Regions from separate parts of the Homo sapiens genome. Here all the other regions are linked to region 7. Evidence: promoter capture Hi-C in 16 types of primary human blood cells and fetal thymus (Javierre and others, 2016). All regions are on one chromosome and are shown on one strand. The core of a region is centred on a gene start or on the middle of the fragment in contact, and the rest is flanking DNA. Distances in the headings are between cores, read along the strand shown. Region 1 has its middle 2.0 kb from the start of ALDH1B1. Region 2 overlaps LOC107987065 (a long non-coding RNA gene). Region 3 has its middle 110 kb from the start of ALDH1B1. Region 4 has its middle 87 kb from the start of ALDH1B1. Region 5 has its middle 3.0 kb from the start of POLR1E. Region 6 overlaps LOC107987065 (a long non-coding RNA gene). Region 7 holds the start of SLC25A51 (solute carrier family 25 member 51).

The links. Contacts are between HindIII fragments. The CHiCAGO score rates a contact against its expected background, and 5 or more counts as called.
Region 1: a fragment that was not itself captured here is called in contact with the fragment with the promoter of SLC25A51 in region 7 in 16 of 17 cell types (monocytes, endothelial precursors, megakaryocytes and 13 more); the score reaches 30.3 in monocytes.
Region 2: a fragment that was not itself captured here is called in contact with the fragment with the promoter of SLC25A51 in region 7 in 5 of 17 cell types (endothelial precursors, megakaryocytes, M0 macrophages and 2 more); the score reaches 13.9 in endothelial precursors.
Region 3: a contact is called between a fragment that was not itself captured here and the fragment with the promoter of SLC25A51 in region 7, in 2 of 17 cell types (endothelial precursors and M1 macrophages). The highest score is 6.8, in endothelial precursors.
Region 4: a contact is called between a fragment that was not itself captured here and the fragment with the promoter of SLC25A51 in region 7, in 1 of 17 cell types (endothelial precursors). The highest score is 7.4, in endothelial precursors.
Region 5: a fragment that was not itself captured here is called in contact with the fragment with the promoter of SLC25A51 in region 7 in 7 of 17 cell types (megakaryocytes, endothelial precursors, M2 macrophages and 4 more); the score reaches 15.0 in megakaryocytes.
Region 6: a fragment that was not itself captured here is called in contact with the fragment with the promoter of SLC25A51 in region 7 in 4 of 17 cell types (endothelial precursors, megakaryocytes, M2 macrophages and 1 more); the score reaches 10.4 in endothelial precursors.

Annotation. Positions count from the first base shown.
Region 1 is chr9:38,389,370-38,392,069 of GRCh38, reverse strand. No RefSeq gene overlaps it. Among named protein-coding and RNA genes, the nearest start is that of ALDH1B1, 2.0 kb to the left of the region's middle. The HindIII fragment of the contact is 2,895 bases long and covers 1-2,700 here.
Region 2 is chr9:38,344,466-38,347,165 of GRCh38, reverse strand. All of the region lies in intron 1 of LOC107987065 (a long non-coding RNA gene), which reads right to left. Among named protein-coding and RNA genes, the nearest start is that of ALDH1B1, 47 kb to the left of the region's middle. The HindIII fragment of the contact is 890 bases long and covers 933-1,822 here.
Region 3 is chr9:38,285,448-38,288,147 of GRCh38, reverse strand. No RefSeq gene overlaps it. Among named protein-coding and RNA genes, the nearest start is that of ALDH1B1, 110 kb to the left of the region's middle. The HindIII fragment of the contact is 5,634 bases long and covers 1-2,700 here.
Region 4 is chr9:38,304,212-38,306,911 of GRCh38, reverse strand. No RefSeq gene overlaps it. Among named protein-coding and RNA genes, the nearest start is that of ALDH1B1, 87 kb to the left of the region's middle. The HindIII fragment of the contact is 560 bases long and covers 979-1,538 here.
Region 5 is chr9:37,481,618-37,484,317 of GRCh38, reverse strand. No RefSeq gene overlaps it. Among named protein-coding and RNA genes, the nearest start is that of POLR1E, 3.0 kb to the left of the region's middle. The HindIII fragment of the contact is 5,664 bases long and covers 1-2,700 here.
Region 6 is chr9:38,323,559-38,326,258 of GRCh38, reverse strand. All of the region lies in intron 1 of LOC107987065 (a long non-coding RNA gene), which reads right to left. Among named protein-coding and RNA genes, the nearest start is that of ALDH1B1, 68 kb to the left of the region's middle. RefSeq lists an enhancer at 215-724. The HindIII fragment of the contact is 8,409 bases long and covers 1-2,700 here.
Region 7 is chr9:37,902,750-37,905,449 of GRCh38, reverse strand. SLC25A51 (solute carrier family 25 member 51) reads left to right here and starts at 1,323. Exons shown (of 3, transcript NM_033412.4): 1 at 1,323-1,382. It also overlaps the pseudogene PAICSP1. RefSeq lists a silencer at 1,123-1,882. The HindIII fragment of the contact is 4,581 bases long and covers 1-2,680 here.

The DNA of each region.
Region 1 (2,700 bases), core at 114-2,613, 490 kb before region 7:
CCTGCTAGTATTGTTTCCTCTGCATCTTTCAAAATTATTTTAATAAAAATAAAATCATATAGTAACCTCTGTTGTGCTGCTTTAAAAAAAATTTAAAAACTTAGCGCTGTATTTTGAAGTTTTCTCCTATCACTAATTACAGATGACATCATCCTCTCCAAGGTGGCATAGAATTCTGTTGTAGGGGTAAACTGTTGGACATTTAATTGTCTCCATTTTGTTGCTATAAAGGTTGCCAAGATGGACCACTGAACATGCATCTCACTCGCTCCACCCTCGCTGCACCTTCCTTCTGGCTAGGGAGGTCCCAAAGCTAACCGCCATGTTTCCCAGCCTCATTTGCAGTTAGAGTTCTGGATGTGGACTAGGTGCTGCCAATTAGTAGTACTCTGCCGGATGTGGAAGGCGGGCACGCATTGGAGGGTATTGTCCTGCCCCTGTAGGGTGGCACTAGCAGGATAGCAGAAATGGGAGATGTTCTGCGGCAGCATTCCTTGTCCCTTCTCCAGCTTTCTGGCTGTGGACCGGCCGCTGTGGCTGTAGCCGCTCCTTGACCTGGCTTCCTGCTCTTTGAATGGAGGCTGCAGGAGGGTGTCTGAAGTAGCCTCAGACAGGCACGAGGCTGGTGGGCCACGTCCATATTGTCCTGAGAGTTGGTCCTGGTCTGGCTAAGGCTTGCTTCTGCCTCCGGCACTTGCAGCAGGTCTGTAAGCACCCAGTTCCTTGTATTAAATCCCTGCCTCTCCACTGATCTAGGGTGCTCACATGCGACTGCTTGGACCTAATTCACTTAGTTCTTTCCTTAAGCTACATCTCTATGGAATCTTTTGCTACCATATCATCCTTAGCATGTTCACAGCCCTTGCTGCAAAAGTTAGCCATCCATGAAGGCACTATGATTGGCATCTTATCACCTTGATGCCCATGCTTTCCTCGGGTTTCTCCAGCAACGGCATGAGCCCCTTGCCAAGGCCCTCCTGCCTCCCCCACAGCACGTGGACAGCCTAGCTCCCCTTGGGCACTTGGCATAGCACTCCAGGACTGATTGACTTAATGATTAACTGACCAATCCTTAAGAGGCCTCATTGATAGAGGGAGTGAGTTTATGGCAAAATGAGTATCAGTCCTCGTGTTAGAGTGCATTGGAAACTGTGGCAGGTCTGAGAGGCCAGCTGCAGACAGGAAGTGACCCCCATGCGGCAAGGTTGGAGGCTGTGCCCCTTGAGGAGCAGCTGAAGGAACTGGGATGTTCACCCTTTAGAACTTGAAAGACAAGGCTGTGCCGTCCAAATCTCTGAAGGGCAAAACCAGATAGGATCTGTGGGGTCCTAGAAGGCAGAGCCAGACCAGTGAAGAATACAGAGGAATAACTCCCAGAAAAAGCAGAACTGGCTAAGGCTGGGAGGGGCTCCCTTGAAAGGCAGTGGGCCTCCCATCACTGGAGGAGTACAGGGAAGGACAGATAACCATGTGGCAAAATCCTAGTTCAGATAAGAACTAGACAAGGGGCTCCCAAACTTAGCTATACATCAGAATTGAGTGGGGAGCTTAGTTTTTTTTGTTTGTTTGTGTTTTTGTTTTTGTTTTTTAACAATCTCCTGGACCTTGCCTTCAGAGAGTCTAAATTATTAGATGTAGGTTGGAGCCCAGAAGTTTTTGTTAAGTTTCTCATATGCTTCCTTTTTTGTTTTGTTTTGTTTTGTTTTGTTTTGAGATGGAGTCTTACTCTGTCACCCAGGCTGGAGTACAACAGTGCCATCTCGGCTCACTGCCGCCTCCGCCTCCCCAATTCAGGTGAGTCTCCTGCCTCAGACTCCTGAGTAGCTTGGACTACAGGAGCGTGCCACCATGCCAGCTAATTTTTGTATTTTTAGTAGAGACGGGGTTTCACTATGTTGACCAGGCTGGTCTCAAACTCCTGACCTCAAGTGATCCGCCCTGCTCAGCCTCCCAAAGTGCGGGGATTACAGGCATGAGCCACTGCGCCTGGCCAAGTTTCTCATATGCTTCTGATATATAACCATATTTGGGAAGCACTGGCCTAAGTGGTTTCTGAGGAGTCTTTGACTCCGTCATGGTTATTTCCAGAAAGTGACTTTGCCTGCAAATGTGTTATGTCTAGATTCTATCCAGCATGCCCACCTTTGACACTTTCTAAGCTGTGACTGGCATCAGAACTCACCAAAGTGGTCCTGTTGCAAGGTATTTACCCCTCCTCAAAAAAAAAAAAAAAAAACTTCCACAGTGCTTGACATTTATGGTTTGGAGAGAAGAATGAATGTGCAGTAGCTGAAGGTAAAATGCACAAATTATTTTTGCAGAGGGTTGACTATTTTCCAGGAATGTGATGGATTCAGCTTTTTAATTAACAAAAAAAGATCCAGGCCCTTTGTAAGGATATTGGACCTGGAGCCTGTGTGGATTGAAGGGGAAAGGGTGAGATAACACAAGCCACAGTCAGGTCAGTGTCGTCCAGGGATGTGTTTACACTGGGCTGGTGGGAGAAGAGAAGCAATTTCTATCCTTCAGCGTTGTAGAGCCTTATATGTCTAAGAAGTTACTGAAGAAGAATCCAGCTCTGAGAATGACGTACAGATCAGCTAGATTCCAAACAAAAGGACTGAAAGCTGCACTGAGTGTTTCTTCTACACTGAGCATAATCATTTTCTGTATTTGAACGGAAGAGGCAAGACTAGGTCA
Region 2 (2,700 bases), core at 128-2,627, 440 kb before region 7:
GAGGAGCAGCAGGGGATTCTAAACAAAGACATCAGGGAACTGGAACAAGAATGGATCATAACCATCCCAGCGCCTGCCAAGTCCCCCACCCCTCACACACACACCCCTGGGCTCCCGCAAACACTCCCTGGCTCAGGCCCAGCGCGGGGCCTTCTGGTGAGAACCCCTCCCTGGGAGTGCAGCCTTCTGGGCCGCTTTCTTCTCAGTAGGACTGAGCTGTCAGGCGCCTCCCAGAGATTTCAAGACGGCTCCCCTCCCCCAAGGGATGCCTTTGTCTTTGTCTCCATAGAAGAGGCAGCAGCAGGGGGTGGGGTTTGGAAGAGGGGAAATGAGACAGGGTCCTTGCACCCAGAAAGCCTAATTGGGGTGAAGGGTGGCCAGACACGGATGCTTTTTGTGTGGGTCATAGGAGCTCAGAGGACTGAGAGGTCCCTGCCTTCTGGAAGGTAGTCAGAGAGGACTTCATGGAGGAGATGGCCTTTGGGCTGTCCTGGAAGGACAGTAGATTAGATGGGCAGAGATGAGGAGGAAGAGTGTTTCCAAGTGAAGGGACCACATGACCCAAGGCTCGGAGGTGGGAGAGAACCAGGGGTACTGGAGAATAGGAGGTGGGCCCGTGTGAGTGGCCCTGAAGAGTATGGGTGGAGATGCTGGGGAAATGGGGAATAAGGCCAGAGAAGTCCCAGGCCAGCCGGATGGCAGAGGGCTTGATTGTCAGCTGAAGAGCATGAGCCTGGTTTCTCAGCCCATGGAGAGCACCGAAAGTTTTGATAAGGATAACGGCCCTGGTCCTTGGGGTGGAGAATAGAATGAGTAGGGTGAGGTGGAGGCAGGGAGAACAATGTGGAAGGGCTATGGCCTGGACAGGGCAGTGGCTGTTAGGGTGGGGAAAGATGCACATGTGAAAATCACCTTCAACAGAAGGAAAAGCTTACAGAACATGGACTGGGGGGAGGGGTGAGAGAGAACAGGTAGTCAGGGATGATCCTCAGGCCACACAAGCAGGCCCTTGGAGGTGCAAGTGGGTCAGGTGGAGAGTGTGGTTGGGGCGGGGGTGGTAGTTTTCTGAGCACAAAAGTCTGTGTCCCTTTGGGCATCTGTGGCTGGGAAGGAGGGCTTTGCTCCGGGTAAGATGCAGGTGGGAGGCTGCAAGCATGTTGTATGTGGCAGGGCTAGGTGCTGTACCCAGGCAGACCCAGGACCTGTCACAGGAGAGGTGTCTCAGGGAAGAGAGCAGAAGGCAGTAGCGGGCAGGAGCAGGGGATGAGCAGCCACTTGCCGCCACATAGAATGAGTAAAAGGAGAGTTCGGGGGTTTTTTGCACTCAGAGGTGATTCTGAACTGGACCTTCCTTTCCATTATCCCATTATCAATGAGCACCTCCCACGTGCCAGCTAGTGGCAGAACCATGGTGGCTTCCAGCCCCAGCCCCTATTTTTAAAGAAGTTTCCATCTGATGGGGGAGAGAATGGGTTCCAATATTAGGCTCACCATGCTCAGTGCCATGAGAGAGGGACAGAGGGACAGGTCAGGGAAGGAACCCTCAAGGAGGTTTGCTCACAGGGACATGGGGAAAGGACAATTCCAGGAGAAACAGCCTGAGCAAAGGCCTGGAGACAGAAGTCCATCAGTGTAGACTGAGCCCAGGCAGATTTGGGAAGGGGAGAAGGGGAGACAGGAGATGGAGAGACAGAGGAAGCAGCTCTAGAAAGGCAGATTCAGGTGGATGCAGGTGACCTGGGTTCTGGCTATGGATGGGAGCTGTAGTGCAGGCAGCAAGGAGGGAGAGTGGGGTAGGCAGAAGGGAAGGATGATGGAAGCTTTTCATAAAGGCAGAGGCAGGGTGGTTGCTGGGCCTGAGAGGTCAGTGGGCCCTGGCCGCCTGTCTCGCTCGCCAGGACCTCTCCATTTCCATTACTGCCTGGGTCCTGACTCCTTTATATTACATTTCTGGATCACCCACTCATAAATCCTCTTCCTGCCTGGGGCTGGGAGCCCTTGAACAGGCAGCAGCTTTGATTTAAAGCAGGGCTGGCAGTAAAGGGGGAACAAAACTACCCAGAGAAGAACACAGGCAGCAGAGGCTTCCCTGGGGGAGATATGTAATTAAAGTGGGGCCGCCTCTCTCTTCCTGAGAGCTTCCTAGAGGATGGACGAGGGGAAGGTTGCCACCTGCTACATCGGTCCACTGGGCCAGCACATTCCCAGTTCCAGGAGGACAGGGCCAGACTCAGAGCTGCACACACTAGACTCCAGCTGAGCTCCCTGCTGTAGTCAGCAGACTTCTAAGATTGTCTCCAGTAATCCCCACCTGCTAGTAACTATGCCCTTGTTATGGTGGGAGTCTGGGGTGGATCTAGTGACTTGTTTCTAATGGATACAGACACATAGCAAATGAGATGGGTGCCACTTCCATGACTGGGCTATTAATACGAAAGACTGTGAATTCCTTCTTGCTAACAGTCTCTCTCTGTCTCCCCCTCCCCCTGCCTCTTGCCTTCTTGGTTTGCACACTTTGATCAAGCAAGCTGCCATGTTGGAGTGGTCCACATGACAAGGAACTGAGTGGGGGTCTCTGGCCAACAGTTAGAGAGGAACTTAGGTCCTCAGTGCAACAACATCCAAAGAATTAAATCTCATCAACAATCGCATGAATGAGATTGGAAGGAGATCCCTCCCCCAGGCATCATCAGATGAGAC
Region 3 (2,700 bases), core at 162-2,661, 380 kb before region 7:
CCACTCATTACCTGCAGGCTAAAATGGAAATCCCTTGGCATAGCTTTCAAGGGTTTTCCTGCTCCCTGAATCTACCCTCCATTTGTGCCATTGGGCCCTCCCTGTGCTCCGCCTCCCCTTCCCATGCCTGGCCATTCATCCCTCAAGACTCAACTCTGAAATGCCCTCCCCCAAAGAAATGTCTCCTCCTTGCCCACTTCCAATGTGGCTCTTAGTACCCTGTGTTTTAATGCCTATGTCCAGCCACGTCTGTCCCCCCCAACCAGTCTGAGGAGGGCAGGGACCAAGTCTGATGCATTTCTCTTCCCAGTGTAGCTCAGGACTGGGCACACAGTCAGTGCCTATTGAATGTTTGCTGAGTGAATTGTAGAGGACCTGGGCTCTTTCCCTCCTCAAGCAGGGTGATGTGGGCAGTTTCCCCCAACACATGCCTGCAGGTGGCAAGATTTCAGTGGGGCCAGGCCAGGCCAGCTCATCTCTGGGTATTGTCTTGCCTGACTGCTGCCTGTGCTTGCTGATGGGCAGATAGGAAGGGGGAGCCCCATGAGTCAGGCTGCGCTGGTCTTCAAGCAGGTTATTCATGTTCTTCAGAGATGGTCACTGCCATGCACCAAACCCCTGAGCAAGCCATGCAGTTCCAAGGCACTCAGCTTCCCATCCTCAGCTTTGCCTTTCATTTGAACCCTCCCACACCTGGGGATCCTCCACACTAAGGAAGGTGAGGCTGGCAGTGGCAAGGGCCCACAATGCATGCCACACAGGCTCACTCAAAACAGCCTGGAAAGGAGACTCTCCTTTGCAGAGCGAGCCTCTTAACAGTTGCCCCACTCCTTATAGATCTCGCCTGGACATGACCTCATTGGGAGACAATGCTCCACGGATTTCTCATGTTTCCACACATCTTACAAGTGGAGGCACTGATAGCTTTCTTTCCAGACTATCTTTTCATGGGTGTTTGTAGAGTGAGCAGCCACCCTGGAAGACAGAGATCATTTTTCCCTCCAAAGCAGAAGGCAGATTTATTTGCTGTCCTGTATAATAAAAATAATGTCTCACCTCTGAGGCAAAGATAGCTTTGCTTATAGGTCATAATGAAAGATTTGGATTTCCTAAACTTGGAGTTCCTAATTTTGACACACACCCACTATGCATACCACATCCACCAGGCTGCTCAGCATCATCCCCCCACGGGCCTTGGGGAGCAAGGAGAACTGATATAAATATGAAGCCCATGCTGCTTGCAACACCATGAGTAATAAAGTCTTTTGTCTCTGGCCCTGGAGTCTCATGTCTTCTGCCAGCATCCATGAAACTGTAGCAGGGTGGCTGGTAGCTTGCAAGTGAGGAAAAATTTCAGACCCTCCGCAGCTCTTGATGGGAATAAATTCAAAGTAAAGATTGAATTTTATAAAATTAGGTTCCAAGTTTTTTGGAGTTTTATAAAACCAAGAATAGGTGTGCAATTTGTTGAACAGCTACTGGGATCCAGCCCTTTACATACATAATTTCACTGAATCCTCCCTATAGCCCTGTGATGTATGTGTGATAACACCCATTTTACAGATGAGGAAACTGATGCTCAGCTAGGTGAGGGGACTTGCCCAGGATGAACTGCATTAGAAGCCCAAGATATTCTCCCTTGGCTCTTGTGCCTCCCTCTCAGAAGATCCCAGCAATGCAGAGAGCTCTGAGCAGCCATGGGAAGCCCATTCTAGGAGGCAATGGGTGTTTCTATAGCAACCAGCTTCCCAAAAAGTCCACACCAATGCAACAAGCCTCAGCCCTAACTCTGAGGCCTCTAGGCTGCATTCTTGTGGGCCATCCTCAGAGAAGGATTCTGCTGGCCTGTAGAATTGAGGCAGAGAACGCTAGGGGAGATTTCAATCTTGGCAACCATTGGCATTGAAAAGTGCTAGAAAGCATGTATCCTTTTGAAATGGTTATCCAACCCGTGGCCCACATGCAGCCCAGGGTGGCTTTGAATGCAGCCCAACCCAAATTCGTAAACTTTCTTAAAACATTGTAAGAATTTTTTGTGTTGTTTGTTTTGTTTTGTTTTGTATTTAGCTCATCAGCTATCGTGTTAGTGTATTTTTATGTGGCCCAAGACAATTCTTCGTCTTTCAATATGGCCCAGGGAAGTCAAAAGATTGTACACCCCTAGATTAGACATGTCCGTAATGCAGTCAAGCAGCAAATATGAATCAAAGACCTAGTATATGCCAGTCATTGTTCTAGGTATTAGGCATACAGCAGTGAAGAGGACAGAAAATTTTTGTGCTCTTATAGTGCTTCATCTTAGAAAGGTAAATGCATAATTTAGTAAATGCTAGTGATAAGTGCTACCAGCAAAAACAAACAAAAATTAGCCTGGCATGGTGGCATGCACTTGTTGTTTCAGTTACTCCAGAGGCTGAAAGGTAGGAAGATTTGCTTGAGCCTGGGAGGTCCAGGTTACAGTGAGCCATGATCATGCCTCTGCACTCCAGCCTGGGTGACAGAACGAGACCCTCTCTCAAACAAAAAAAATAAAAATCACAAAAAACAAACAAGGTGAGGAGAATGAAGAAGGGTAATAGGGGAGGTCAAGGAAGATTTCTCTGAAGAGAAGACATTTGAGCTTTCATCTGATGGGCAGAAGAAGTAAGCCAGATACATATGCAGGGGAAGAGCCTTCCAGACACAGAGGACAGCAGGTGC
Region 4 (2,700 bases), core at 9-2,508, 400 kb before region 7:
TTTGATGGACATCCTGCTTCCAGGGGAGAGAGGAACAGAGCCCGGACTGTCCCAGGCAGTTCCTCCCTAACTCAAGATATTACATTCCCTAGGAGGGATAGGAACAAGGCCCAGGCTGCTCCTGGCCTCCTCTCTATCTCAGGATATTGCATTCCCAGCACATTCTACAGTTATGCTTGAGAATTACAAGCAAAAAGAGGAAGGAATTGCGTTGGTCCAAGGCGACCCAGAGAACTGTCCTGCAATGACCTCACTTTAACTTTCACACCTCAAAGGATCATGGTAAATTTTGCATCATCTTCCATGACTTCTCAACCATATTCGACACCACTAAACATTCCCTTTTCTAAAGACTTTCTTCCCTTGACCTCCAGGAAGACATGCTCTCCAGTAGCTCCCCACCTTGCTGGATGTCACTTCTCAGTCTTTTCTGGCCCCTCCTCTGTCCTCCACGTGTTACTACAGACATATGTCATTTCATTATGCTTCACTTTATTGCACTTCACAAATATTGCTTTTTAAAAAAAAACAAACTGAAGGTTTGTGGCAACCCTGTGTCTAGCGAGTCTATTGGCACTATTTTTCAAGCAACATGTGCTCACTTTGTGTCTCCATGGTACATGATGGCATTTCTAGCAAAATTTCAAATATTTTCATTATTAATATATCTGTAATTGTGATCTGTGATTAGTGATTTTTGATGTTTTTATTGTAATTGTTTTGGGACACCACAAACTGCACCTATATAAGATGGCAAACTTAATTGATGAATTTTGTGTGTTGACTGTGTGTGACTGTTTTGACTGCTCCACTCACCCTCTCTCTCTCCCTCTCTTCAGGCCTCCCTATTCCCTGAGACACAACCATATTGAAGTTAGGTCAATTAATAACCCTATAATGACCTCTAAATGTTCAAGTGAAAGGAAGAATTGAATGAACATCTCTCTTTTGAAATCAAAAGCTAGCAATGATCAAGCTTAGTGAGGAAGGCATGTCGAAAGCTGACATCAGTCAAAAGCTAGAGCTCTTGTGCCAACAGCCAGGTTGTGAATGCAAAGGAAAAGTTCTTGAAGGGAAATGAGAAGTGCTACTCCAGTGAACACATGAATAATAAGGAGTAAAAGAGCCTTATTGCTGATAAGGAGAACACTTGAGTGGTCTGGATAGAAGATCAAACCAGCCACAAGATTTCCTTAAGCCAAAGCCTAACCCAGGACAAGGCCTTAACTCTCTTCAACTCTGTGAAGGCTGAGAAAGGGGAGAAAATTACAGAAGAAAAATTGTAAGCTAGCAGAAGTTGGCACATAAAGTTGAGTGAAAGAAGTGATCTCCATAACATAAAAATGCAAGTTGAAACAGCAGGTGCTGACATGGAAGCTGCAGAGAGTTATCCAGAAGGTCTAACTAAGATCATTGATGAAGGTGGCAATGCTATACAACAGATTTTCAGTGCAGATGAAACAGCCTTATACTGGAAGAAGATCCCATCTAACACTTTCATAGCCACAGAGGAGAAGTCAATGCCTGGCTTCAAAGCTTCAGAGGACAAGCTGACTCTTTCATTAGAGGCTAATACAGCTGGTTACTTTAAGTTGAAGCCACTGCTCATTTGCCATTCTGAAAATCCTAGGGCCCTTGAGAATCATGCTGAATCTATTCTGTCTGTGCTCTTTAGATGGAAGAACAAGGCCTAGATAACAACATATCTGTTTACAGCATGGTTTACTATTTTAAGTTCACAGTTGAGACCTACTCCTCAAGAAAAGATTCCTTTCAAAATATTACTGCTCCTTGACTCTGCACCTGGTCACCCAAGAGCTCTGATGGAGATATACAAGAAAATGAATGTTGTTTTCATGCCTAACCCAACATCCATTCTGCAGCTCATGGATCAAGGAGTAATTTTGAATTTCAATTCTTGTTATTTAAGAAATATCTTTCACAAGGCTATAGATGCCATAGATAGTGATTCTTCTGATGGATCTGGGCAAAGTGAATTGAAACCTTCTGAAAAGGATTCATCATCTAGATGCCAGTAAGAACACGCATGGGCCAGGCGCGGTGGCTCACGCCTGTAATCCCAACACTTTGGGAGGCCGAGGCAGGTGGATCATGAGGTCAGGAGATGGAGACCCTCCTGGCTAACACGATGAAACCCCATCTCTACCAAAAATACAAAAAATTTGCCAGGCATGGTGGTGGGCTCCTGTAGTCTCAGCTACACAGGAGGCTGAGGCAGGAGAATGGCGTGAACCCGGGAGGCGGTGCATGCAGTGAGCCAAGATCGTGCCGCTGCACTCCAGCCCTGCACTCCAGCCTGGGTGACAGAGCAAGACTCTGACTCAAAAAAAAAAAAAAAAAAAAAAAAAAAAAAAAAAAAAAAAGAACACTCATGATTAATGGGAGGAGGTGAAAATATCAACATTGACAAGAGTTTGGAAGAAGTTGATTCCCACCCTCAGGGATGACTTTGAGGAGTTTAAAAATTCAGTGGAGGAAGTAACTATATATGTGGTGGAAATAGAAAGAAAACTACATTAGAAGTGAAGCCTGAAGATATGACTAACTGTTGTAACCTCAAGATAAAACTTGAGTAGATGATTTGCTTCTTACAGATGAGCAAAGAAAGTGATTTCTTGAGATGAAATCTACTCCTGGTGAAGGTGCTATGAACATCGTTCAAATGACAACAAAGGATTT
Region 5 (2,700 bases), core at 153-2,652, 420 kb after region 7:
TCTCAGACTCCTGGGCTCAAGTGATCCTCCCACCTTGGCCTCCCAAAGTTCTGGGATTACAGGCGTGAGCCATTGCAGCTGGCCCAATCATGTTTTTATAGCAAAAATGTCCTGTCAAGAATCATGTGTTGCATTTAGCTCTCATAGCCTTTCCTCCCTTAGAAGGCTACCTTGCTTGACCCCACCTCATGATTTTGGATTGAATTGTTCAGGAAAGGAAAAGGGAAGAAGAAGAAAGAAGAAAGAAGGATGAAGAAAGAAGAGCTTAATTGTGTGATTGTCTCACCCATTGATTGTTTCCTCACTAAACTTACTTGGGGTTCACAATAAACACTTTGGAGGTTAATAAACAAATTTATGTTTGTTTTGATCACTGCTTTATCTCCAAATCCTGAACATACTAGACCCTCAATAAATATGGAATGAATTAATGAATGACAGGGCAAAGAATGGGCCTGAATTATCACTAATCTTGGAAGCCTAGCACAGGGACTGGAACTCAAAGATGTTTGGTAATATTGGTTGAAATCAACTAGCATAGGGTTTACACATAACAGACTCTATAAATGTTTTTTGGTTGAATGAAAATATGAACAGTTAAATCAAAGTTAAAGGTGACCAAGATAACAGTGGCTACAATGAGCCAAGTATAGTTCTTAAGAGAAGTATCTTGTGATATAGGAACACATTATATGGCCTTGTTACTCATGATATAGGAACACATTGTATGGCCTTGTTACTCAAAGTGTGGTCCATGGAAACAGCAGCCTCGACAGCACCTGGGAACTTGTTAGAAATATAGGATCTCCAACCCTATCAAATCTTCTGCAACAGGATCTGCAGGTGATTCATGTGCACTTGAAGTTTAGGAATCACTGTTATACCGGACTGATTCCCCTTTAAGGCACATATTTGCCAGTCAGACAGATTATGTGCAAGTCCCCTGGATTGACTGTTTTGTAGCGAGGACAAAGAGTGAAGAGTACAACACACCCACTGAAGCAAAAACTCCTAGAATTACCACAGGCAAGAATTCCAAATGACGGAGATTCTATCCGTGGAAGCAAAGTGTTGATGGTCAGGCAGCTGGGAAGGGGATCATAGTATACCCCTGTGTTGTTTAATTATTTAACAGTTATTCAAAAGACACACCTATACACACCATGTACATATACATACGTGCCTGTGTAACTGGGATGGGGCAGGATGGAGGTGGGATGGGGCAGGATGGAGGGAGCCCTACATAGGCATTAACCAAAATGCAAAAACCTATAGTGGCCTCTTTTATTTTTTTATTTTATTTAATTATTTATTTATTTTTTTGAGGCGGAGTCTCACTCTTGTCGCCCAGGCTGGAGTGCAGTGGTGTGATCTGGGCTCACTGCAACCTCCGCCTCCTGGGTCCAAGCAGTTCTCCTGCCTCAGCCTCCTGAGTAGCCAGGATTACAGGTGCCCACCACCACGCCCGGCTAATTTTTGTAGTTTTGTTAGAGACAGGGTTTCACCATGTTGGCCAGGCTGGTCTCGAACCCCTGACCTCAAGTGATCCACCTGCCTCAGCCTCCCTAGGTGTTGGGATTACAGGCGTGAGCCACCACACCTGGCCAGGTGGCCTCTTTTATATTCAAATCGTGGATAATCACAGGCAAAATTTACCACATAATTTTTTTTGGAAATTTAGTTTGGAAATAATTCAGAGACACCTGGAGTTCTCTTTTAGTATCATTTTTCAGAGAAGGAAAATGGTTTTCCAGAGGGCAAAAGGAGAGGGAGAAAAGCAAAGTCCTCCTTTCCTGGGGTAATATCTCCATCTGCTGGTGTTTCAGGATAACACTAACAAAGACCTGAAAAGGCGAGTCAGATTCCATACTGTTTGCAGTGACTCGCCCTGTACTCTGGGGAATGGCTTCTTTTTTTTTTTTTTTTTTTTTTTTTGGAGACAGAGTCTCGCTCTGTCACCCAGGCTGGAGTGTAGTGGCGCGATCTCGGCTAACTGCAACCTCTGCCTCCCGGATTCAAGCAATTCTCCTGCCTCAGCCTCCTGAGTAGCTGGGATTACAGGCGTGCATCACCATGCCCGGCTAATTTTTGTATTTTTAGTAGAGATGGGGCTTCACCATGTTGGTCGGGCTGCTCTTGAACTCCTGACCTCGTGATCCCCTGCCTCAGCCTCCCAAAGTGTTGGTATTACAGGCGTGAGCCACCGCGCCCGGCCGAGAATAGCTTCTTCTGTCTCACCTCTTCTCTTCCTTTCTTGTCCCTCTGCTTCTCTTTTTCCTCCCTTCCTTTCTCCCTCTGTGTTTGTCTCACTCTCTTGTTCTCTCCTCTGGTCATTCCCATTCCTTTCCTTCATATCCCTGATGCAGACCCTCTTTGCATACCTACACACATGGATGACTCACTCCTTAAAAGGTGGACTTCTCACCTTGAACAGGTTTTTTCCTTACATGGAGCTGACTCTACCTTCTGTAGCTTCTCCCTATAGCTCCAGTTCTTCATTCCGGGGTCATGCAGAACACAATCAGCTCTTCTTGCCTGTGCCCTTCAAAAGCCTGGAGACGTCTATCATGCTTTCCATGTATCTGTTCCTCTCCTCTCCCAGCCAAAATTATCCCTCACATACCAAAGTTTCTAGGTCCCTCCTCTTCCTGGTCACCTCTGCTAGACATATGCCAGTATATCTGGATCCTTCAGGGTCCC
Region 6 (2,700 bases), core at 117-2,616, 420 kb before region 7:
ACAAATGATAGGATTTCTTTCTTTTTAAAGGCTAAATAGTATTCTATTGTGTATATATACCACATCTTCTTTATCCATTGATGGACACTTAGGTTGATTCCATATTTTGGCTATTGTGAATAATGCTGCAATGAACATGAAAGTGCAGATGCCTCTTCAGCATACTGATTTCATTTCCTTTGGCTGTAGACCCAGAAGTGGGGTTGCTGGGTCATGTGGTGGTTCTATTTTTAATTTTTTTAGGAACCTCCATACTGTTTTTTTTTTTTCGTTTTTTTTTTTAATTAATTTATTTTTTATTGATAATTCTTGGGTGTTTCTCACAGAGGGGGATTTGGCAGGGTCATAGGACAATAGTGGAGGGAAGGTCAGCACATAAACAAGTGAACAAAGGTCTCTGGTTTTCCTAGGCAGAGGACCCTGCGGCCTTCCGCAGTGTTTGTGTCCCTGGGTACTTGAGATTAGGGAATGGTGATGACTCTTAACGAGCATGCTGCCTTCAAGCATCTGTTTAACAAAGCACGTCTTGCACCGCCCTTAATCCATTTAACCCTGAGTGGACACAGCACATGTTTCAGAGAGCACAGGGTTGGGGGTAAGGTCACAGATCAACAGGATCCCAAGGCAGAAGTTTTCTTAGTACAGAACAAAATGAAAAGTCTCCCATGTCTACTTCTTTCTACACAGACACGGCAACCATCCGATTTCTCAATCTTTTCCCCACCTTTCCCGCCTTTCTATTCCACAAAGCCGCCATTGTCATCCTGGCCCGTTCTCAATGAGCTGTTGGGCACACCTCCCAGACGGGGTGGTGGCCGGGCAGAGGGGCTCCTCACTTCCCAGTAGGGGCGGCCGGGCAGAGGCGCCCCTCACCTCCTGGACGGGGCGGCTGGCCGGGCGGGGGGCTGACCCCCCCCACCTCCCTCCCGGACAGGGCGGCTGGCCGGGCAGAGGGGCTCCTCACTTCCCAGTAGGGGCGGCCAGGCAGAGGCGCCCCTCACCTCCCGGACGGGGCGGCTGGCCGGGCGGGGGGCTGCCCCCCCACCTCCCTCCCGGACGGGGCGGCTGGCCGGGCAGAGGGGCTCCTCACTTCCCAGTAGGGGCGGCTGGGCAGAGGCGCCCCTCACCTCCCGGACGGGGCGGCTGGCCGGGTGGGGGGCTGACCCCCCCACCACCCTCCTGGAAGGGCGGCTGGCCGGGCGGGGGGCTGACGCCCCCACCTCCCTCCCGGACGGGGCGGCTGGCCGGGCGGGGGGCTGCCCCCCCCACCTCCTTCCCGGACTGGGCGGCTGGCCGGGCTGGGCGCTGACCCCCCCACCTCCCTCCCGGACGGGGCGGCTGGCTGGGCGGGGGGCTGACGCCCCCACCTCCCTCCCGGACGGGGTGGCTGCCGGGCGGAGACGCTCCTCACTTCCCAGACGGGGCGGCTGCTGGGCGGAGGGGCTCCTCACTTCTCAGACGGGGCGGTTGCCGGGCAGAGGGTCTCCTCACTTCTCAGACGGGGCAGCCGGGCAGAGATGCTCCTCACCTCCCAGACGGGGTCGCGGCCGGGCAGAGGTGCTCCTCACATCCCAGATGGGGCAGCGGGGCAGAGGCGCTCCCCACATCTCAGACGATGGGCGGCCGGGCAGAGACGCTCCTCACTTCCTAGATGTGATGGCGGCCGGGAAGAGGCGCTCCTCACCTCCTAGATGGGATGGCGGCCGGGCGGAGACGCTCCTCACCTCCCAGACTGGGCAGCCAGGCAGAGGGACTCCCCACATCCCAGACGATGGGCGGCCAGGCAGAGACGCTCCTCACTTCCCAGACGGGGTGGTGGCCGGGCAGAGGCTGTAATCTCCGCACTTTGGGAGGCAAAGGCAGGCGGCTGGGAGGTGGAGGTTGTAGCAAGCCGAGATCACGCCACTGCACTCCAGCCTGGGCACCACCGAGCACTGAGTGAACGAGACTCCGCCTGCAATCCCGGCACCTCTGGAGGCCGAGGCCGGCGGATCACTTGCGGTTAGGGGCTGGAGACCGGCCTGGCCAACACAGCGAAACCCCGTCTCCACCAAAACCAGTCAGGCGTGGCGGCGCGAGCCTGCAATCGCAGGCACTCGGCAGGCTGAGTCAGGAGAATCAGGCAGGGAGGTTGCAGTGAGCCGAGATGGCAGCAGTACAGTCCAGCTGCGGCTCAGCATGAGAGGGAGACCGTGGAAAGAGAGGGAGAGGGAGACCGTGGGGAGAGGGAGACGGAGAGGGAGAGGGAGAGGGAGAGGGAGAGGGAGACCCTCCATACTGTTTTTCATAATGGCTGTACTAATTTACATTCCTACCAACAGCATACAAGGGTCTCCTTTTCTCCATATCCGTGCCAACACTTTTTATTTTTTGTCTTTTTTATAATGGGCTTTCTAACTGGAACAAGGTAATATCTCATTGTGGTTTTAATTTTCATTTCCCTGATGATTAGTAGTTTTGAGCATTTTTTCATATACCTGTTGGCCATTTGTATGTCTTCTTTTGAGAGATGTTTCAGGTCCTCTGTCCATTTTTTAGTTGCATTGTTTTCGTGCTATTGAGTTGTTTCTCTTTCTCTTTAGTGTGTCTACTAGTTTTTTTCCTTGGTGGTTATTATGAGGCTTACATAAAGCTGCTATAGTTATAACAGTTTATTTTAAGTTTATAACAACTTATCTTTGACTGCTCACAAAATCTTTA
Region 7 (2,700 bases), core at 74-2,573:
GGTGTCTGTGTCTGACAGTCAAGATTCGCATTATCCAGCCCCACCACCTGACCCTTACAATCTTATCTCCTGCTGCTATGACTTTCTCCACTGGGCCAAATTCCACTCATCCATCCTCCAAGGCCCAGTTCAAACGTCTGCTCTGTGAAGCCATCTCTGGTTCTCCCTCGAGGGGGGAGGTCCCCTCATGCTTCTGAATTTCCAGTCTTTTGTTGTTGTATCCTTCATCAGACGCTAAGCTCCCCAGGACCTGGCACGCAGTAGGTTCCTCAATGGAGCGTTTGCTGGAATGGGGGAGGGTGGTCTCCAGCTTCCCGAGAGGCACCTAAGCACGCCAGCCAAAGTGGGGCTGGGCAGAGACCAGACCCGCTTTTGGAGTCAGTGTCTACAAAGTGCTCTCGGGGGAAGGGGGCACGCGGGGAACGTCGCCCACCCGGAGCCGATCCCCCCAAGAACGCTTCACTCGGGTGGGGTTACTGCTTGGGCTCGCCCCAAGCACAGTGCGCACACTTCACACATCCGCAAGCCTCCTGAAACGCCTCTCCCCTCAGGCCGACCTTTCTGTTTCCTTCAACGCCTCCCATCTGTTGTGTGCGTTCCAGTTTCCAACTCAGAGTCAGAACCATCATTTCCAAAGACTCCTGCAACAGCCCGAGGACGCATACAAGGCATGGGTTACTTTTCAGACGGAGATTTGGGGCTCAGGGTCCAGCGACTCACCCAAGGTCACTCTCAAGAAGTATGAGGGCTATGACTTTGACCCAAGCCTTCTAACTCCCCGGGCAGCGCTCCTCCCAAGCCCCCCGCAAGCTGTCTGAGCTTCAAAGGAAAAAGTTTAAAAGTGATCCATACGTCCCAAAGCACGCACAAAGCGTTCTTCTGTAAACTGCGGCATGGGTCGCTGATAAAAGGTCCCTCTGAAGGTTTGAAGATACTCAACAAGGCTCCACAGAGGGTACTTTGGAGTTTTCCGCGAAGGCGCTCGCCCCGCAGAACCGACAAGGCCCCTAAAACCGACAATGCCCAGACGCCCCCTGCAGGCAGCGCGCTAGAGAACGCGTTGGCTGTTTCTGGCACGCTGAGGCCACCGTACGGCATCAAGGGTGAAGCATGGTGGCTAGCGGAGCCCGCATCCTGACAGGTGTGCTGGCGTGGCCCTCTACCTGCCCCGCCGCGGCGGCCTGCGGCCAGGAGAAGTAGGCTGGCGACATCTGGCGGGCCGCGGGCCGAGGGAGGGGAGGCGGGGCGGGGCGGTGTCTCCCTCACGTGACCCCAACAGCGCCCAGCGCGTCGCGCTGCGCCCCAACCTCGGGGTCGGTCACAGTCTGCGCCTGCGCGGGCCCCGGCTCGCTAGCCGTCCTGCGGGACGCCGGCGCTGATGGGTGAGTGTGGGACGAGCGTGGGGAAGCACCGGGCTTTCTTCGCATGAGGTTGGAGGGAGGGGAAACGCGCTGAAGGGCCCGCTGGGGCAGGCTGCCGCCCTGGGGGCCCATCCCTGTCTTCTGCGCGCTCCGGCTGCCCTGGCCCGGTCCCTGCGGGCCCCACCCAGGCGGCGCGGGCGGAATCAGTTCTGAGCCTCCTCGGCTCCGGGCTCCCCCGCCTGCCGCGGGTGTTTGTCCGGCTGCTGGGCGACCTTTCCCGCGAAGGCGCTGTCCCTTCATTCGGGCGCGCCCTGGGCTGGGGAGGCACCTCCCTGGTGCACAGGAACCGCAGGGGCGGGGAGGAGCCGGGAGCTGCCTGCGCCCGGGGGACAGCGGGGATGGCACCGCGCAAGGGCCTCTGCGTCCCGGGAGACTGGGATTTCGGCCTCACCTCGGGACCCCTGACTGTGAAGTGTCAGAAACGGAAGAGGACTTAGTGATCTTGTCCAACCCCCTCCCCGCCTTTCACAGGTTGGGGAAATGGACGCCTGGAGAACGGTAAGTTCAGCTACATAGCCTGGCAGTGCTTGTTCTGCGACAGCATATTGCATCGCGTTGTAGGAAGCTCACTTGTACAAGGATTTTCGGGGACGATGGTGTTGGTGGTGTTAGTCTCCATCCATTATTTGGTGTTCAGTTTAGCTAGATGGAGTATGTCAGCACCTCAACTTCCTGCAAAACCTTTGTTTTGCATCTCACAGCTCTACCTAGCTGATCTTAATTCCCACCTTCTGTTTTTCTCTACTTGTAATCTCTGAAACAGAAGCCCTTGAAATGTATAGTGACCTTGCCATTTTGAGCCGCCTCTGCCCGTGCTTTGAAAGGATTCCATAGGATCAAAAGGTGCTAGGACTCTTGAGGTCCCATAGTGGTTTAGAGCACAGGTTACCGCTTTGGAACTGGAATCACCCTTAGCGCATCTCAGGGGAAAACAAGCTAGGAGTTGACTCATCTGATCTCTCGTTTGGTAAATGAAAGCAAACTCAGATCAGTGGATTTTAAAATCAGATATTGCTTTGTCTTTATATTGGCAAGCTAGTGTCGTAACTAGGACTAGACCCAGGCTGATCTTGTTCTGAATGCTGACTCAGACCTGCTGACTAGTGGAAATTCACATCCTTTGAGAATTGGAGTCACCCTCTCCCCAGTTTTTGCAGAGACCTTTGTGCTAGGATCATATCTGTATCATGCTGATCCATGTAGGCTGTAAATTATAATAAGGTTTTAGACTTTACACTGTTTTCTTAGTCACAGAAGCTTGACACTTGTAGTTGCTTGA